Regions from separate parts of the Homo sapiens genome. Here region 1 is linked to region 2. The links are contacts of gene promoters, found by promoter capture Hi-C in human tissues and cell types (Jung and others, 2019). All regions are on one chromosome and are shown on one strand. Each heading gives the region's core, a stretch centred on a gene start or on the middle of the fragment in contact. The rest is flanking DNA. Distances are from core to core; before and after follow the strand shown.

Region 1 (3,786 bases), core at 338-2,837, 420 kb before region 2:
GATTTGTTGACACAAACTGCCAGCATTTCACAGTGATGAAAGGATGGCCCACCAACCTCATAACAAGCAGAGATTTCCCTGAGGGTCACCAGAGCTGCTGATGTGGCTCCTCTGTGAGGAGAAGAAAGCAATTAGGAGAATGGATGAGGTTATTAGGTCTTATTGCTTCCCTCAGCTCCTGCACACACTGAGTGCTGTGCGGCGTGGGATTTCAGGCTCCCTGTCCTACGTGCTGCGGATTCTGTTTGCGCCTCTTCCACTGCAAAAAGCCAGCTGGGGGACAAACAGCTCATGTACGCTGACTCCAAGCATGTGGAGAATGCACACACAGATTTAGGACACCAAAAGAAACCTGCAGGTGGAACCAGCTTTAGCAGACTTTAAAAATAACAAGATCATTGGAGTATAAATACAAATCCATGAATGCATGAGGCACACCCGTCTCTCCCTCGCTTTCTCCATCCCTTTTTATGTTTTGTCACATTACAAATATTTAGACTGGTTTGATTTAAAAGATCTATTCAGGTAAGCTGGCCAACTACACGTCTATGCAGATGGGCAGGGGAGGAAGAGGAGAGGAGGGTATGTTCTGTGAGGACAGCATTGGTTTAGCAAGTGTTTATCAAAATCTGGAATATGCACAGCAGTAGGGGTGGGTGTATGAGGGGGAGAGGTAAGAAAATATCAGGAATAATGTCACCTTATATTGTATAAGTGGGTTTTTGCAGCAAAATATACATAACATAAAATTTACCATTTAACCATTTTAAGTGCACAGTTCAAGAACATTAAGTACTTTCACATTATGTATGGCACAGCCATCACCACCATCCACACCATCCATCTTCAGAACATTTTTATCTTCCCCAACTGAAACTCTGCCCTCATTAAACAATATCTCCCTATTCCCCACTGCCCCCAGCTCCCGACAACCAACATTCTACTTTCTGTCTCTATGAATTTCACTACTTTAGGTGCCTCATATAAGTGAAATCACGAAGCATTTGTCCTTTTTTTTTTTGCTGGGCACATGTGTCTAGTGTTATGAGAGGAGTTGGGAATGTTTGAGGGTTGGCCAGGGATGCCCCACCCCCTCCTAGGGGCTGGGCTCGGGCGTTTCTGAAACGTCCCTGAAAGCATCAGGGACCAGGCCCTGGGAGCTGGAAGGTAGAGGCAGACCTATCTGGGCCGGCCGGGGCAGTGGGCTGATGGGTCTCACAGCCGGCCCAATCTCTGGCCACTTTGGCACAGGCCTAGGGGATATACAGGCCCCAGATCCAGCTCTGACAAGTACTGAGAAGGGACAGCTTTAGTCCCCAGAGGGCAGAAGCCTGAGTCCAGGGCAGCAGGGGCAGGCACAAGTCTTACTCAGAGGCTAGGGGTGGTCAGCACCGTGCTGAAGGCTCAGGGGTGTGATCCTCAGCCATCCAAGCTGGGTCGGAGGAGCCTTAAGTTTGGCAGTGGCTCCTCTGCCAGCTCCCGCTCTCCCAGCCAGGGCTGGCTGCCCCCAGGAGCCAAGGAGGGGGCGCCAGGTCTGTGGCAGGAACTAAGAATGCCCTGGTCACTATATACATTGGTACAAATACATAAATACAGAAAGCCCCGAGCTCCACGGAGAAGAGCTGAAGGGACGCACCTTTGTCCCAGGGATGGCCCAGGCCCTGCCAAACTCAGGCAGGCCAGGGGCTGAGGGGGCAGAGGACACTGGGGACAGTTCCGTCTGTGTTCCCCAGGCCACAACTTGAGTGGACAATGGGGAAGTCCACTGTGCAAAACTGTAAAAGGCACTCGGAGTAGCTACTACCGCCCACTGCCCGTGGGGGCCTCTGGCTGGGGGCTAGAGGCGGGTAGGGAGCTCTTCCTCGCTGTCCCCGCAGTTTCCACAGCAATCCTTTGGCGACTGAAGAGTCTCTGCAGCAGTCCCTTGCAGGTGGCTGGCCCTTCCAGTCCAGGTCTGGGGGAACTGAGCCATCCAGCCCAAAGACATTCAGCTCCTGGAAGCACTCAGTCTCCACCATCCCCTTCTGCCAGGGGATGGGCACACTGCCTGTGGCAAACTTCTGGTAGAAGTCTTGGTCGGTAGCCTCCAGCTCCACACCCTTGACCCTAGAGAACTGTTTAATGTCCAGAATATCCTTGCAGTAAATGGCCCGAGGGTCAGGCTTGAAGGGCGGCTCCAGCATGCCGGCTCCCACCCGCTTGAAGTTCAGCTTCTTCAACAGGGGGTGCTCCTTCACTTCGCGGGCACTGCCCCCACGACACCCCAGGCGTTCAGCGGGGTCCTTGCAGAGGAGCTGTGAGCAGGCCTGCGGGGAAAAGCGCTCGGAATACTCCTCGGGGTCCTCCTTCACCAGCCGCTCCACCTCCTCCCGCTTGATCATCTTCTTCCTCTGCTGGAAGAGCGACTGGCCTGCAATCATCTCCTGCGGGAGGCAGCCTAGCGCCCAACAGTCAGAGCTGAAAGTGTACGGTTCATTCTTCACCACCTCTGGAGCCATGTAGCTCACGGTGCCCACACGGCCTTTGATGGTCTGGCCCTCGGGCACGTGCACAGCCAGTCCCAGGTCGGAGACGAGGATGTGGCCGTGGTCATCCAGCAAGATGTTCCTGGCTTCAGGTCCCTGTACACTATGCGCTCCCGGTGCAGGTCCTCCAGACCGCAAGCAGATCTCGGGACGTAGAAGACGGCCTGCGCTTCGGGGAAGCCAGCCCGGCCCATGTGGCAGATGTGGAAATTGAGGTCGCCCCCGTTCATCAGCGTCAGCACCAGGCACAGCGCCTCCTTGGTCTCACAGGTGTAGGCCAAGCTCACTATAAACCTACTGTTCACTCTCTCCAGGATCTGCTTCTCGTTCAGCGCCATGGCCTCCCCTTTCTGCTTCTTGATCCGCTTTTTTTCTAGCTTCTTGAAGGCGTACATCTTGCCTGTGGCCCGCACCTGGCAGGCGCACACCTCCCCAAAGCCACCTTTGCCCAGGACTCGGTACTGCCTGAAGGTATTTTTGGTCACTGGCTGCCTTTCCAGCCACTTCCACTGCAGGAAACGGTTGAAGTAGATGCTGTTGAGGTAGTCGGCAAAAGGGGCCATGCTCAGGTACCCGTGGGTCACCCGGGTGAGTTCCTGGGAGAGTTCTTTGCAGGGCCCCTGCTCCAGCCGCTGGGTGCAGTTCGTCACCAGCTGCCGGGGGGACCTCAGGGATGAGGTCAGGAACCTGTGGCTCAAGAAAATTCTGCATTAGCCGCCGCCCACATGCCTTCCGCTTCTCATCCGGGGTCGCTTCATACTCGGCCATCCCATCCTGGAAGGCGATGCAACGGCTCAGCTCCGGCCTGGTGGCACAGAACTCTCAGAACAGCAGGCGCCCGATGGGCTGCCGCTCGCACAGGCTGTGATAGTCACGTTCGAGACTGAGCCGCAGCTCTTCGCACTGGCTGATGTGGGGGAACTGGAGCATCTGCCGCCATTTCTTGCTTTTGCCTTTGCGATTTCCACCGCTACCTTCCCGGGCCTTGAGGAGCACCGTGTCCGCTACGATGTTCTCGAGCTCCATGGGCCGCGCTGCCGGCCGGGATCGCGCGCGAGTGCCCAGGCCGGATGGCGATCGGCGCGGCTCTGCTCGGCTCCCAGCGCGGCGGCTGCCACCCACTCCCCCACCTCTCCCGCCCCGCCTCCCCAGCCATCGCCTGCGTTTGTCCTTTTGTGACGGGCTTATTTCACCGAGCATAATGTTCTCAAGGGCCATCCGTGTGGTATAGTATGTGTTGGAATTTCCTTCCCTTTAAAGG
Region 2 (3,519 bases), core at 916-3,415:
TTTCCAACGGAGCTAATAATGCAGTTCCGTGTGGCCGGGCACAGTGGCTCATGCCTGTAATCCCAGCATTTTGGGAGGCTGAGGCAGCGGATCGCCTAAGGTCAGGAGTTCAAGACCAGCCTGGCTAACATGGTGAAACCCCGTCTCTGCTAAAAATACAAAAATTAGCCAGGTGTAGTGGTGCACACCTGTAATCCCAGCTACTCTGGAGGCTGAAGCACGAGAATCGTTTGAACCCAGGAGGCAGAGGTTGCAGTGAGCTGAGATGGCACCATGGCACTCCAGCCTGGGTGACAGAGAGAGACTCCATAACACACACACACACACACACACACACACACACACACACACACACACACACAGACATTCTGTTGCAGTGACATAAAACCTCAACAGTATGGCTTTCTTATAACTAGGAATAAGAAACAGGAAGATTTCAACAAAAAATAAACTTAAAAATACTGAAACGAATTTGACTGTCTGTGTTGTTTCAGAAGGCTGAATAAGCACCAAAAAGAAGTTATAGGAATGTAGACCGTAGATGTCAGCTCAAAACGAAACAAACCCCTGATCCGAACAACCTAACAGCACTGGTTTGAATACTGAAACAGCTGTCAGGACCACTTGCGTGGAATGTCCTAGAGGCAACTGGAGCACCGGAGGGAAGGTTAATTACTTGATACTCTAATATGCCTTTCAACACGGATTCCACAAACACGACAATGCTGATTTTTGTCCTTTTTTTTTTTTTTCCTGAGACAGGATCAGCCTCTCACCCAGGCTGGAGTGCCGTGGTGTGATCTCGCCCCACTGCACTCTCGACCTCCTGGGCAATCCTTCCGCTTCAGCCTCCCGAGAAGCTCGGACCACAGGCGCAAGACACCACACCGGGCTTTTTTTTTTTTTTTTTTTGGTAGAGACAGGGTCTCACGATGTTGCCCAGGCTGGTCTCGAACTCCTGAGCTAAAATGAGGCCTGCCTTGGCCTCCCAAAGTGCTGGGATTACAGGCATGAGCCACAGCGCCTGGCCGACAAAGCTCATCTTACTGCATTTGAGAAGCCAGGTAGTCAAGGTCAGGCTTTCCTGTCCCTGCTTTCTCCCTCTCCTATGTGAGCCAGCCCTTAAAGAGTGAAAACGGCAAGAGCCAAAGACGGGTTTTCCTCCTAGGGTCTCCTAGCGACCCGCTGCCCAGATACATTTGGATGATTGTCCTGCAGAAGGCCAAAGCCCTCCATTATGAAAACGAAGCGTTCGGCCGGGGGCGGTGGCTCACGCCTGTAATCCCAGAACTTTGGGAGACCGAGGCGGGCGGATCACCTGAGGTCAGGAGTTCGAGACCAGCCTGGCCAACATGGTGAAACTTCGTCTCTACTAAAAGTACAAAAATTAGCCGGGCGTGGTGGCGGGCGCCTGTAATCCCAGATACTCAGGAGGCTGAGGCAGGGGAATCGCTTGAACCCGGGAGACGGAGGTTGCAGTGAGCCGAAATAGGGCCATTGCACTCCATCCTGGGCGATAGAGTGAGACCCTGTCTCCAAAAAAAAAAAAAAAGAAAGAAAGAAAACGAAGCGTTCTATCCTGGAATGTTCTCCCATGGCAAGAAGGAACAGAGAAGCAGGAGACAGAGATACTTTGAAAGGAGGTGCGCTCTGAGGAGGGGAAAGCGGGAAGAGCGATTCCAAGTTTAGGAAATCCTGCACGGCGCTGGAGCGTGGAAGGGCAAGGAGGAGCCAGGGGAGGCGGTGTGCAGGGCTGAGAACGGAGGGAGCGAACTGGCGTCGTGGATCTGCGGGTCCCCGGGCGGGCTGTACTAGGGTAGTGGGGAGAGGGCCGGGGGCACCGCGAGGCCGGGGCGCCGGACACCACGCATGCGCGGGGCTGGGAGCTTAGCGGGGCGCGCGGCTGCAGCAGTCTGGGCAGACCGCCTCGGCCTCGCCCGGTGCCGGCTGCGGCCGCCCCCGCCCCAGCGCGGCGGCCGGGCTCACACTAGTCCCCTCCCAGCCACCCGGAACCCGGCAGCCCGGCCAGACCCGCCGAGGCCGCGACGCCGGTGTCGACAGCGGCTGCGACGGCCCTGGGAGCGCGTGAGGCTCCGGGGTCGCGGCGGCGATTGGCCGGCCGCGGCGCCCGCTCCCAGAATGCAGCGCATGGCGCGTCATTGAAGAGAGACCATGATGGCGGCGGCGCTGGGGCCCCCAGAAGTGATCGCTCAGCTGGAGAACGCGGCTAAAGTTCTGATGGTGAGGACGCCGCGCCCCTCAGACCCCGGGATTCGCGGGCCCCCGGTCGGCCCTGCCACTCCAGGCCTTGCTGCTCGCTGGGCTGGCGACTGGCAAGGGCCTGCAGGGAGCCTGGAAGTGGAGGAGGAGGTGGCGGTGGCGTGGCGCAGGATTCTTCAGCCTACTTTCCTCCTGCCGTCGTCCCCTCCTTCCAGGAGCTGTCCCCTTCCCCTGGCTGCCCAGCACCCCAGTCGGGCGTGGGAATATAGTGGTGTAGCAAAGAGAATTTCTTCACCTTACACCCTGCCCCACAGACTGGGTCGCAGAGCAAGGCGCCGGGAAGGAGTTGGGGTTATCCCCGCAGGGCTTCGGTAGGGGAAATTTGTAGGGCTGTGTGAGCGCTCTTGGGGAGTTGGTGTCGGGAGGGATTGGATGGCACAGCCTGGGTGCTGTTAGCAACCCTTGTTTCCTGTGCATTCGCATCCTCTAGCGCTTCCCTGACATGCAGCCACCTCTGGAGTAATTGCAGCCGGCAGCACGTGGAAGGGCCGGGCCGGCTGGAGGGAGGGAGGGGAATCGTTGAGACCAAGGTCATTGGGGCAAAACTTGGTCTAGTGCTAAGCTCCTTAAAGCTCCCGCGATTTGGAGAACTGAGTCTATGCTACTCTTTGACTTCATGCTTACACTACAATAAGCAGTTTGATGAGATTGTTTACTAAGGGAATTTGAGAAGGCCGAGTCAAAGGATAAAAGTATTACATGCAAGGAGGAGAAGTAAGGATAAACTACGTTCAGTTAGTAAACAGTGTTTCTATTTGCTGGCTCAGCTTTGTTTTTGCAAATTATGACTTCGGTGTTTGTAGATGTTTTGGGAAGTTAGAGGTTCATTTGATACCTGGATTGATTCAGACTTTCTAAGAATTGGATACAGCCAGCTTTGTTACCTTTTTGGACTTTTTTCCTTTTGGTTTGGTGTTAGGGTGTTTGAGCATCACATTTGAGAATATTCGAACTAATTCTAGCGTAGTTTGTAGTTCTAATATTTTACACCAGATATTTTTGTTTCTTTAGAAATCGAGAAGTCTAATAAAAGCAGGATTTACTTGCTTCATTATGAATATTAACTTAATGTACGTTTTGTCACAAAACAGACTAGTGAAGGTTTTCACACTTTTGCAAATTAAGCAGAAGTAACTAGCTAGTATTCCCCTTAATAAAAGATTCTTAAAAATCCCTGACATAGAGCGTTTTGTAAAATTCCTGAAATTTTCCTAGGAGCTAGGGGCTCCGTTTTCATTG

Evidence for each region. Contacts are between HindIII fragments. The study calls those that stand out against the background at their distance.
Region 1: a contact is called between a fragment that was not itself captured here and the fragment with the promoter of XPO4 in region 2, in 1 of the 25 tissues and cell types used here (lymphoblastoid cells).

The regions. Positions count from the first base shown.
Region 1 is chr13:21,318,921-21,322,706 of GRCh38, reverse strand. The region is part of intron 2 of LINC00539 (long intergenic non-protein coding RNA 539); the gene reads left to right. It also overlaps the pseudogene MIPEPP3 and the pseudogene GRK6P1. Among named protein-coding and RNA genes, the nearest start is that of LINC00539, 24 kb to the left of the region's middle. The HindIII fragment of the contact is 7,902 bases long and covers 1-3,786 here.
Region 2 is chr13:20,901,392-20,904,910 of GRCh38, reverse strand. It overlaps XPO4 (exportin 4), which reads left to right and starts at 2,165. Exons shown (of 23, transcript NM_022459.5): 1 at 2,165-2,241. The coding sequence starts at 2,173. RefSeq lists a silencer at 1,763-2,142 and an enhancer at 2,353-2,402. The HindIII fragment of the contact is 40,685 bases long and covers 1-3,519 here.